Regions from separate parts of the Homo sapiens genome. Here regions 2 and 3 are each linked to region 1. The links are contacts of gene promoters, found by promoter capture Hi-C in blood cells and fetal thymus (Javierre and others, 2016). All regions are on one chromosome and are shown on one strand. The core of a region is centred on a gene start or on the middle of the fragment in contact, and the rest is flanking DNA. Distances in the headings are between cores, read along the strand shown. Region 1 holds the start of FAHD2A (fumarylacetoacetate hydrolase domain containing 2A). Region 2 overlaps ZNF2 (zinc finger protein 2). Region 3 has its middle 24 kb from the start of ZNF892.

What was found. The method cuts DNA at HindIII sites, captures the fragments that hold promoters and counts their contacts. A CHiCAGO score of 5 or more calls a contact.
Region 2: a contact is called between a fragment that was not itself captured here and the fragment with the promoter of FAHD2A in region 1, in 4 of 17 cell types (total CD8 T cells, naive CD8 T cells, activated CD4 T cells and 1 more). The highest score is 8.4, in total CD8 T cells.
Region 3: a contact is called between a fragment that was not itself captured here and the fragment with the promoter of FAHD2A in region 1, in 3 of 17 cell types (M0 macrophages, M1 macrophages and M2 macrophages). The highest score is 16.1, in M0 macrophages.

What each region holds. Positions count from the first base shown.
Region 1 is chr2:95,400,771-95,404,242 of GRCh38, forward strand. It overlaps FAHD2A (fumarylacetoacetate hydrolase domain containing 2A), which reads left to right and starts at 1,938. Exons shown (of 8, transcript NM_016044.3): 1 at 1,938-2,102. RefSeq lists enhancers at 708-1,647, 1,577-1,656, 1,648-2,586, 2,727-2,846. The HindIII fragment of the contact is 5,947 bases long and covers 1-2,880 here.
Region 2 is chr2:95,180,069-95,183,540 of GRCh38, forward strand. ZNF2 (zinc finger protein 2) reads left to right here. Exons shown (of 5, transcript NM_021088.4): 4 at 91-204; 5 at 1,035-3,472. The coding sequence ends at 2,038. Among named protein-coding and RNA genes, the nearest start is that of ZNF2, 16 kb to the left of the region's middle. The HindIII fragment of the contact is 245 bases long and covers 1,804-2,048 here.
Region 3 is chr2:95,230,013-95,233,484 of GRCh38, forward strand. It overlaps a transcript of ZNF892 not described here. Among named protein-coding and RNA genes, the nearest start is that of ZNF892, 24 kb to the left of the region's middle. The HindIII fragment of the contact is 473 bases long and covers 1,617-2,089 here.

The DNA.
Region 1 (3,472 bases), core at 688-3,187:
CTATTTTATAATCCCATCAGCAGTGTACAAGAATCCCAGGTCCTCCACATTCTTGCCAGTACTTGGTATAATCAGTCTTCTTTGTCCATTCTAGTAGGTGTGAGATGGTGTCACATTGCGCTTGCAATTTGCATATCCTTAATGATTAATGATGTTGAGCATCTTTTCATGTCCTAATTTTTTCTTTCTTTTTTTTTTTGAGACAGAGTCTTGCTTTGTCGCCCAGGCTGGAGTGCAGTGGCACGATCTCGGCTCACTGCAAGCTCCACCTCCCGGGTTCCCGCCACTCTTCTGCCTCAGCCTCCCCAGTAGCTAGGACTACAGGCGCCCACCACCACGCTCGGCTAATTTTTTGTATTTTTAGTAGAGATGGGGTTTAACTGTGTTAGCCAGGATGGTCTCGATCTCCTGACCTTGTGATCCGCCTGCCTCGGCCTCCCAAAATGCTGGGATTGCAGGCGTGAGCCACTGCGCCCAGCCTTCATGTCCCAATTTTCTGTCTGTATATCTTATTTGATGAAATGTCAGTTCAAATATTTTGTCCATCTAAAAAATTGAATTGTTTGATTTTATCTACTGACTTTTAAGCATTCTTTCTATATTCTGGATACAAGTCTTTTTATCAAATATAGCCTTTACAGATATTTTCTTCCAGGCTGTAACTTAGCTTTTCAGAAAGTCTTTGGGAGCTATGGCTTAGTGAAACCCTTGTGCCAGGTTCTCCTCAGCGAATCCCCCTGATCACAGCCACCCCCATAGGTTCCATTTCAATATCTGTGGTGACCTTCTGCAAGCTAGGCTGAAGTCCCAAGCTCCAGACCCATGTCTCCAACTGCCCACCGTTCAATGCCCTTTGGATGTCCCATGCAAATCGGAGCTCACCATCCTCTCCCCAGACCCGCTGCTCCTCCAGGAGCCCTGTCTCCATGAACGGCCCTGCACCTACCGAGCTAGAGACCCAGGAGTTGGCCTTGTACCTCCTTCCTTCTCACTTCCACCTCCTGTCATTCAGAGCTGTCAGTTCTTCCTCCTGAACATCTCTGGACACTCACCTTCTCCACCACGCACCGCACCACCATTGTTCTCAACCGCACCACCCACCCAGACACCTTTCCTCAGACGGGTGGCCAGAGAAAAACTTCTCAAATAGAAGTCGGGACATGGCACGCCACTGAGAACCTTCCAGCGGTCTCCTGTGCACGTAAACAAGGTCCAGACTCCTTCGTGGGACAAGTAAAGCTCTTGATGATCTGGTCCTTGAGTAATGTGGGGGCCACTTGTACAGAGCCCCTCACACTGTTCAAAGTCGGCAGCTGAAGAGCTGAGCAGTAGCTGTCTGTGGAGTTCAGCTGCCACTCCCTACACGCCTGCCCTCTGCAGGGGATGGAGTCCCGTTTCCCCACTTCCCCACCTGCGCCCAGCAGTGCAGGTGAAGGCCTGGCTGCGGAGAGTGGCTGGGAAACGCTGCGCTTTGGGGTCAGGAATGCCAGCTCCACTACTCACCGCCTGTGTCACCCTGGGAAAACAGCTCTGGCCCCAGGTTCTCCATAAGTAAAACGGGGGCAGTCATCCCTCCCCTCCTCAACGACATATGTCAGAATCAGAAGCCACAAATCATTCTCTGCCACCCAGCACGCTGCCTTGGTCTCCTAGACCACTTTCCCCAACAATGGGAAAGGCGCCAGGCCCAGAACAAGGCCGAGACCGGATGAGGCCAGCGAAGCGCCCAGGGACAAACCTTCGGGCAGCGCCCACTCTCGAGTTCAGGCAAGTGCAGGGTCCCTCCGAGAGAGAGCGTCTCCAGAGAACGCGGCTGGCGCCTGGCTGAACCCGTAGCCTGAAGACCCGCCGGAGCCGCCCGCCCCACGATGGGCCCGCCCCTCCGGGATTGGCGCCCTGCTAGTGGCCATTGCCTGTGACGTCACAGGATCGCGCCCGCTTTTCTCTCGGGTGATCCGGCCGAGTGGCCCTGGGTTAGCAGCTGCTGCATTTCCCCGGCTGGCTGCGGTCACTGGTGGCAGTGCTCAGGCGCCCGCCGCCCTTGACCTTCGGCCCCGCGAGCTCTAACCCTACAGCGCAGGAAGATCGGCCGCCGCGGCCAGGTAGGACGAGCCTGGCTGGGTCTAGGCCAGAAGGGTGTCCGTGGCGCCGGTCTCCCGCGGAGCGCAGAACTAGTACCGGATCCCCAGCCGCTTCTGACCACACAGACGGGGCGGACCTGTGTGAGCACTCACTAACTGTCGGGGCTGGAGCTGGGCATATGGGGAAACTGGGGGACCGGCACGGGTTCCAGGCGAGTGGACGGTGGGATGGAATCCGACGTGCACACCCATGTCTCAGGCTTTGTTTGATGGAGGCTACTGTTTCCACCTCATGTCGCCGCCCCTTTGCTTATGGACTCTTGCAGAGTTGGATTGAGCTCGGGCTGTGTGATATAGTGGTTGTTGCAGAAGCCCCAGGGCCACTTTCTGACTAGTACCTTGGGCACCTGACATCATCCCTTTGAGTCTCAGTGTCCTCTTCTTTAAAGTGAGGGCGCTCTACCTGAGGAGATTGCTGTAAGGTTGGAATGAACCTGCATGTGTGTGTCATGTGGGAAGGGAACAGTCAGTGGGGCCTGGGGTTCTCTTGGAGAGCTGGTAACCAGCCTCGTCCCTGAGGCAACAGCCAGAGGGCGCCTGTAGTTTCCCCACGCATGTCTGTTAGCAGTTACGGCCTCTGGAGGATCTCCTGTGGGAGGTCCCTACTTCTCACTACAATCTTTAGAGACTTTGGAGGATTTCCTATGGAAGGTCCCCACTTCTCACCACAACATTCTGGGTTAAAATGGCCTTGGTAGGGGGATGGGGGCTGAAGCTGGATTTTTTTGCTTGCATTACAAGCTTCTGAACCAAGGACTTCATGTCACCTGGACTTGGATTCACATCCCAGCTCCTTCCTCTCCTAGCTCTAGGACTGTGTAACCTTGGGCAAATCTCTTAACCTCTTTAAGCCTTAATTGTTTCATCTGTAAAATGAGGCTAACAGTACCTACCTTCCACAATTGTCGAGAATTAAATCAGACATTGTAGGTAGAGCACTTAATAGTTGGCATTCAGCGGCAGCAGTTACTGTTATGTTAGCATGTGGAGTGTCTGAGTGTGTGCACATTGGCTCGAACAGCCTTTTGACAGTGGCACAGTTGGTGCTTGTGTAAGACAGCAGGGCAGAGAAGTCAAAGCCCTCGGTTTTCTAGTCAAACTGGTGGGCCACAACAGTGGTGACCTAAGTCTAATGAATCTTCAACTGAACAAGGCAGATTGAATCTCCAGGTGAGGACCAAGAGTCTGGGGATCAGCTGCCTCCACATTTTTGGGCATAGAAGGCTGTACAATACCGCCTTTGTTGTAAGAGCAAGGAACCATTCAGGGAAGGCACCATGTGGTAAGGAATAGAGGCCAGACGTGGATTAAGAACAAAACAAGAGAATAGT
Region 2 (3,472 bases), core at 676-3,175, 220 kb before region 1:
AAAATCTTAGAGGCTGGGATTGAGCTTTGGGAGAGTGATATTATTTTCATCACACACAGCCACCTGCTTTGTTTCTTTCTCTTTGAGCAGGCCTTCCAGTTCCTCAACCTGATGTGATTTTCCAATTGAAGAGAGGGGACAAGCCGTGGATGGTAGATCTTCATGGGTCTGAGGAGAGAGAATGGCCAGAGAGTGTCTCTCTAGGTAACTGAGTGTGAACAAGACAGAATGGAATTTTGTTTGGCTTTTTGTTATTTGGGTGATGGGGGAAATAACAGGTATCATCTTTCTCTCAAATTCAAGTCTTCTGCTTTATTATTTATTGTATATCACCCAATAGCTTTTATTTTTTTCCCTCTACACCTTAACGTGTTATTCATCTATATTCACCAAGTGTTACTTTCTCACGTCTGTAACGTTGTGCACTCACACTTTGCTATTTCTTTTTTTTTTTTTTTTGAGACAGAGTCTCGCTCTGTTGCCCAGGCTGGAGTGCAATGGCGCTATCTCAGCTCACTGTAACCTCCACCTCCCAGGTTCAAGCGATTCTGCCTGCCTCAGCCTCCCAAGTAGCTGGGATTACAGGCACCCGCTACCACGCCTGGATAATTTTTGTATTTTAGTAGAGATGGGGTTTCGCCATGATGGCCATGCTGGTCTCGAACTCCTGACCTCAGGTGATCCGCCCACCTTGGCCTCCCAAAGTGCTAGGATTACAGGTGTGAGCCACCATGCCCAGCCACACTTTGCTATTGCTATTGAGTGCCATCCTGTCTATTCGGCATGCTCTCCTGATTGTCCTGGCCATGCTCCCACTGGACATTCTCCTGTTTTCTGAGGTGTCCACCATCCATTCTGTTCCCTGCCACCTTCTTCACTCCCAGGTCTTAGTCCCTCCCTGCCGTGTAAGACTATCTATGGGAGCAAGCAATGCAGTGACCATACATTACTTTCAGACTCATCGGAGCATCTCTTCTTTCTGTAATATTTCCTAGCCCAGGAAAAAAACTGCATCTGTTTTCTGTTTGTTCCAGACTGGGAAACTAAGCCTGAGATTCACGATGCTTCAGACAAAAAATCAGAAGGATCATTGAGGGAATGCCTTGGAAGGCAAAGTCCTCTGTGTCCTAAATTTGAAGTTCATACACCCAATGGCAGGATGGGAACAGAAAAGCAAAGCCCTTCAGGGGAGACTCGTAAGAAATCCCTCTCCCGGGACAAAGGCTTGCGGCGACGGTCAGCCCTGTCCAGGGAAATTCTCACTAAAGAGAGACACCAGGAATGCAGTGACTGTGGGAAGACCTTTTTTGACCACTCATCCCTCACCCGCCATCAGAGGACTCACACTGGGGAGAAGCCCTACGACTGCCGCGAGTGTGGGAAAGCCTTCAGCCACAGGAGCAGCCTCAGCAGACATCTGATGTCACACACTGGGGAGAGCCCCTACGAGTGCAGTGTGTGCTCAAAAGCCTTCTTTGACCGTTCGTCCCTAACTGTCCATCAGCGAATTCACACTGGAGAGAAACCCTTTCAGTGCAACGAGTGTGGAAAAGCCTTTTTTGACCGTTCATCCCTTACTCGACACCAGAGAATTCACACTGGAGAAAGTCCTTATGAATGTCATCAGTGTGGGAAAGCCTTTAGCCAGAAAAGTATTCTTACTCGCCATCAGCTAATCCACACTGGCAGGAAGCCTTATGAGTGTAACGAGTGCGGGAAAGCTTTCTATGGTGTCTCGTCTCTGAATAGACATCAGAAAGCTCATGCTGGGGACCCTCGCTATCAGTGTAACGAGTGTGGCAAAGCTTTCTTTGACCGCTCATCCCTTACACAGCATCAGAAGATCCACACTGGAGACAAGCCATATGAATGCAGCGAATGCGGGAAAGCCTTTAGCCAGCGGTGCCGGCTCACGCGGCATCAGCGTGTCCACACGGGAGAGAAGCCCTTTGAATGCACTGTGTGTGGGAAAGTTTTCAGTTCAAAATCTTCTGTTATTCAACATCAACGGCGTTACGCCAAACAGGGAATAGACTGAGTTGGGCAAAAGCTTGGGTAGGACAAGAACTTCCATACAAATTTGAGATAGATCTCGCCTGTCTTAAAGCTGCCATTTGCTCATTCTACCCACTCTGGCTGCCGTTGTCCTGTCCTGCTTCTGCGCCAGAGTGTTTAATAAGCACTCCCTTCCTGCTGTGTTATAGAACTGTAGGGGAGGCCATGGAAATGACTCTAAAGATACAAAATTTTGAAGAGGTTTGTCAGACAATAGGATAGATGTTAGGAGGAGACACACCTCTTGTCTGAGAACCTAGGCCCCAGGTATCACTGCACTTTAAGAAACTGGAGGCTGCAACAGGAGGGAAAGGCAGAATGATATCACAGCAGTACTATTTTTTTTTTTCAGAACATTTGTTTTGATGGCTGTTAGTCCCCCTCTCTTGGAGCATTTTGGGGCACTAATCTTGTTCTCTTGTGTCCCAGCTTTTAGACCTCTTACTTCCACTGCTAGTAGCTAGCACTTACTGAGCACCTGCGATGAGGTAAAGACTCAGCTAAGGGTTTTACAGGAAGTAGATTAATTGATCCTGTCACCAACCATATGAAGTAGGCACTGTTACCATCTGCATCTCCAGATGAGCACCCTGAGGTTTAGAGAGATTAAATCACTTGCCCAAGGTGAACCAGCTGGTAAAAGGTGATGCCAGGTCTTGAAGACAGGTCCACCTTCAAAATCTATTCTCTTTACCATTATGCTCGATGGTTTGTTTGTTTTATAATTTATGTATATGTATTATCCTCTCAACTAGATTGTAAGCACTTGGAGGTGTGACTTACAGGTCTTTGTATCTCACACAGTGCCTTGCTAATAGGTGCTCAATAAATATTTATATGAGTGAATGACTTTTCTACTTACCAAATTCTCTCCATTCAGAACACCTCTTGGATTTGCATACTTTCTCTGAATTCACAGCCCAGCCTATACTTTTATCATCCCCAGCTCCCACTCCTGGCAGCAGTAGCTTTCTAATTCCAGTTCTTCCTGCTTTATTGAAGAGGGATGTGCTAAGCTGTGGTACAGTAACAAGCCCGCAGAGAGCTATGTCTCCCTTAAAACCTGACGGGAACCATTCTGTCTTATTCTATCCTCATTATTTGGAACATCTGGCTTCCAAAGTCACCACAAGGGCGGAAGAGAAAGCTAGAGGAATTTGTAGGATATTTTCTTAGACCCAGGCTTACATCACTTCTGTCCACATCTAATAAGCCAGAACCCAGCACCTAGAAGCTAGGAAAGTAAACAAGCACCTCGAAAGTTGGTTAATACCAAGAACCTCTCTCACAGTTATATTTTGCATACTACTGTTAAGCCAGTCTTTGCAAATGACCCCTTCCTGCCCATCACTGCCTTCCTCAAGACCTAAAATAGCTCCCTATTTAGTGAAAAATTATCTGAATATTTAAGGTCTGC
Region 3 (3,472 bases), core at 603-3,102, 170 kb before region 1:
TGGTATATATATATATATACCATGGAATAAAAGGAATGAAATAATGGCATTCACAGCAACCTGGATGGAGTTGGGGACCATTACTCTAAGCGAAGTAACTCAGGAATGGAAAACCAAACATTGTATGTTCTCACTTATAAGTGGGAGCTAAGCGATGAGGATGCAAAGACATAAGAATGATATAATGGATTTTGAGGACTCAGGGGGAAAGGGTGGGAAGGAGATAAGGGATAAAAGACTACACATTGGGTACAGTGTACACTGCTCGTGTGATGGGTGCACCAGAACCTCAGAAATTACCACTAAGGTACTTATCCATGTAACCAAACACTACCTGTTCCCTCCAAAATTTGAAATATAAATAAATAAAATAAATTTTCATTTTTCTGAGTATTACTAATGTTGATCACTTTTTCAAGTATTTATTGGATATTGGTTATATTCTCTTTAAAAGTGACTGAATCTTTTATCCATTTAAAAAAATTCAGTGTTTTTAAGTTGCTTTGCGGAAGTTCTTTATCTGTATTCTTAATGCAAGTCCTCTGGTAGCTGTCTGCATTGGGAACATTGTCTCCCAGCACTCAGCGATGGTGAGACGGGAAGTGGCAGACCCCCGCGCTGGCTCCTCCGTCGCCGCCTCTGGGTGCCTCCCTGCTTCCGATGGGATGGAGGTTTCAGGCTCACTTTGTTCTTTCCTTGCACCAAATCTGGAATCAGCCAAGGATCCTTGGTTCCTTTTAGTGAGGAATGACTATGTGTTTTTAAAGCTCTGGGGGTTGCTCTTATGTTTTCATGAGCTGATTTATGATGTTTTAATCCAGCATTTCCATTTTAAAGTGTGGGGAGTTGTAGAGAATGCCCACTTCACCCAGTGCTGACACGATAGTGTCTGTGAGTGCTTCTTAGCACTTATGTTGCTGCTTATGTACAATTGGACCCCTTCCAACCTAAAAAAATATAAGGAAGGTCTCACACTACTGGTGGGAAGATAAAAATGCTACTACCACTTTGGAAAATGGTTTGATAATTTCTTATAAAGATACCCATTGACCCAGCAATCTGACTCCTGGATGTTTGCCCGAGAGAAATGAACACATATGTTCACAAAAAGACTTCTTCAAGCATGTTCCTAGCAATGCTCTTCACAACTGGAAACAGCCCAAATGTCCATTAGCAGTATAATAGAAAAACAAATTACAGTGTATTCACACAATGGACTACTCAACAATAAAACAAATGAGCTCATTTCAAAACCTCATGTTGAGTGAAAGAAGTCAGAACACTACAGTACGTATTACATTATTTCATTTATATGAAACTCTAGAAAAGTCAGCACTGATCTATAGTGACAGAAAGTAGAAGAGTCACTGCTACTTTGAGGGGGACTGCCTGGGAAGGGGCAGAACAAACTTTCTAGGGCGATGACATTCCTTATCCTGATTGGGGTGTGCATACAACTGTGTATCTGTTTGTCAAAATTGTACAGTTAAGATTTACATATGCAATGTATATAAAATTTTCCTAAAATGCATATAAATATGCGAGAGTGTGTGTATAAATTATGTCTCCAAGTGTAAAACAAAAAGGAAGGACAGAAATATTAACTGCCTAGCAAAAGCTTGAAGTTGGCTGAGTAGATCAAGTTAATTTAACTCCAGGGGAACATTTGGCAAAAGGGGAAACTGGAGTTCTCTGTACTATTACTGAGCTTCAGGGCTGTCATCCAGGGGCTCAGCTTTGGTTTTACTTTTTTTTAGGGATTTGTTTGCTTCAAGAACTTCCCTGTAGTTCCGTTCAGCCTCACCAGGTGGCAGTGTCATATCAGCTAGGGGCCTGAGAAAGGTCAGCTCTCAGGAGACCCTGGTGCTCTCTGGAGCAGCTGGAGAGCGGGTGCTATTGTGTCATCATCAGTGGTCTTTGAGCAGACTATGACTCATACTCATTCACCAGGCTTAGCTGGACATTTTTTATCTTTTTCCAAAAATTATATCTGGGGCACAAATGTGTCACATTTGCAGGTATTCAAAAGACTGTGCCTGAGGCCCCATGGAAAGCTGGGTGGAGGAAGAGCTCCCAAATCCAACATGTAAGCTTCCCCGAAATGGAAGACTTGTGTGCGGCATGATTCCCTGTGGAGGGGTTTGGAAACATGGAAATGATTTCCCTCCACAGAGACGTACTTCTGCGACTTTCGATTTTACCGGGGGGCCCTGGGCTTCACTGATGATTATTCACATGTATTGAGCATTTACCATGCATCAGGCACTGTTTTAATTGTTGAACATACATGATATCATTTCTGGTCTAGCAGGTAGGGACTATGAATATCCCAATTTTTCAGGAGAAGAAACAGATACCAAGGGGCATTGTGACATTCCAGTGCTTGTGAGAAGGCAGCTGGCCTGACCAGACAGTCCACTCCAGGCTACAATCCAGGCAGGGCGCCTGGGACACTCCTAGCCTAGTGGCTGAGCAGAATGATAGGAGAGAGATTTTGGCAAACATTTCCATTACAGTATTTTGTTCTTCATCTCTTTAAAATCTTGGGTGGATTCCCCAGCTCAGTGTTTGTCTCTCTTGGTACATCTAGTGTACTTGGTGACATTGGAGCTTCCACTTACAGCCTATCTGCTTCAAAGCACACTGTAAGGAGGTCAGTCTCTTTAGAGGCTTTGTCTATGGACAGCAGCAACAACAGCAACAGGAAAAGGATTCTATTTTATCATCGTTACTTAGCACATGTTTGTACCCTGGTCTTTTAAATGCTAATATAGACTGCTTTGAATATACCTATATATACATGTATGTATATGTATGTATTTAAGGGAATAGAGTTGCAGAAATATTCCTCCATTCCCTCTTGCTCGTTGTGTGGTGGAGGACACATAATGGGTACTAAGTACAGGTTTGCGAGCTGAATGGCCTGTTGAATTCTTGGCAAAAGGCACCTGAAATTATGTTTAGCTCCCTAGTTAGTTTGCCTCATTATGTGGGATGTCCTGTTTCCTGCCTGATTGGTTTTGAAAGGCACTTTCCTGAGGGACGACTTCAGGTCACCTCCTGAGCCTCTGGTTTTATTTTCTGGAAGCACACCTTTGTCCAGAGTTTCTTTAAGGACTCCAAATTAGTTTTTTTGTTTTTGCTTTAGTTTTACACATACACACCAGACTTACATTTTATTTTTTCCTTTTCTTTTTTTTTTTTGGAGGCAGATTCTCACTCTGTCGCCCAGGTTGGAGTGCAGTGGTGCAATTATAGCTCACTGTGGTTTAGAACTCCGGGGCTCAAGCAATCCTCCCACCTCAGCCTCCCGGGTGGCTGGGACTACAGGCACGTGCCACTAGACCTGGCTATTTTTTGAAAAAAATAAAAACATCTCGGCCGGGCGCGGTGGCTCACGCCTGTAATCCCAGCACTTTGGGAGGCCGAGGCGGGTGGATCACGAAGTCAGGAGATGGAGACCATCCTGGCT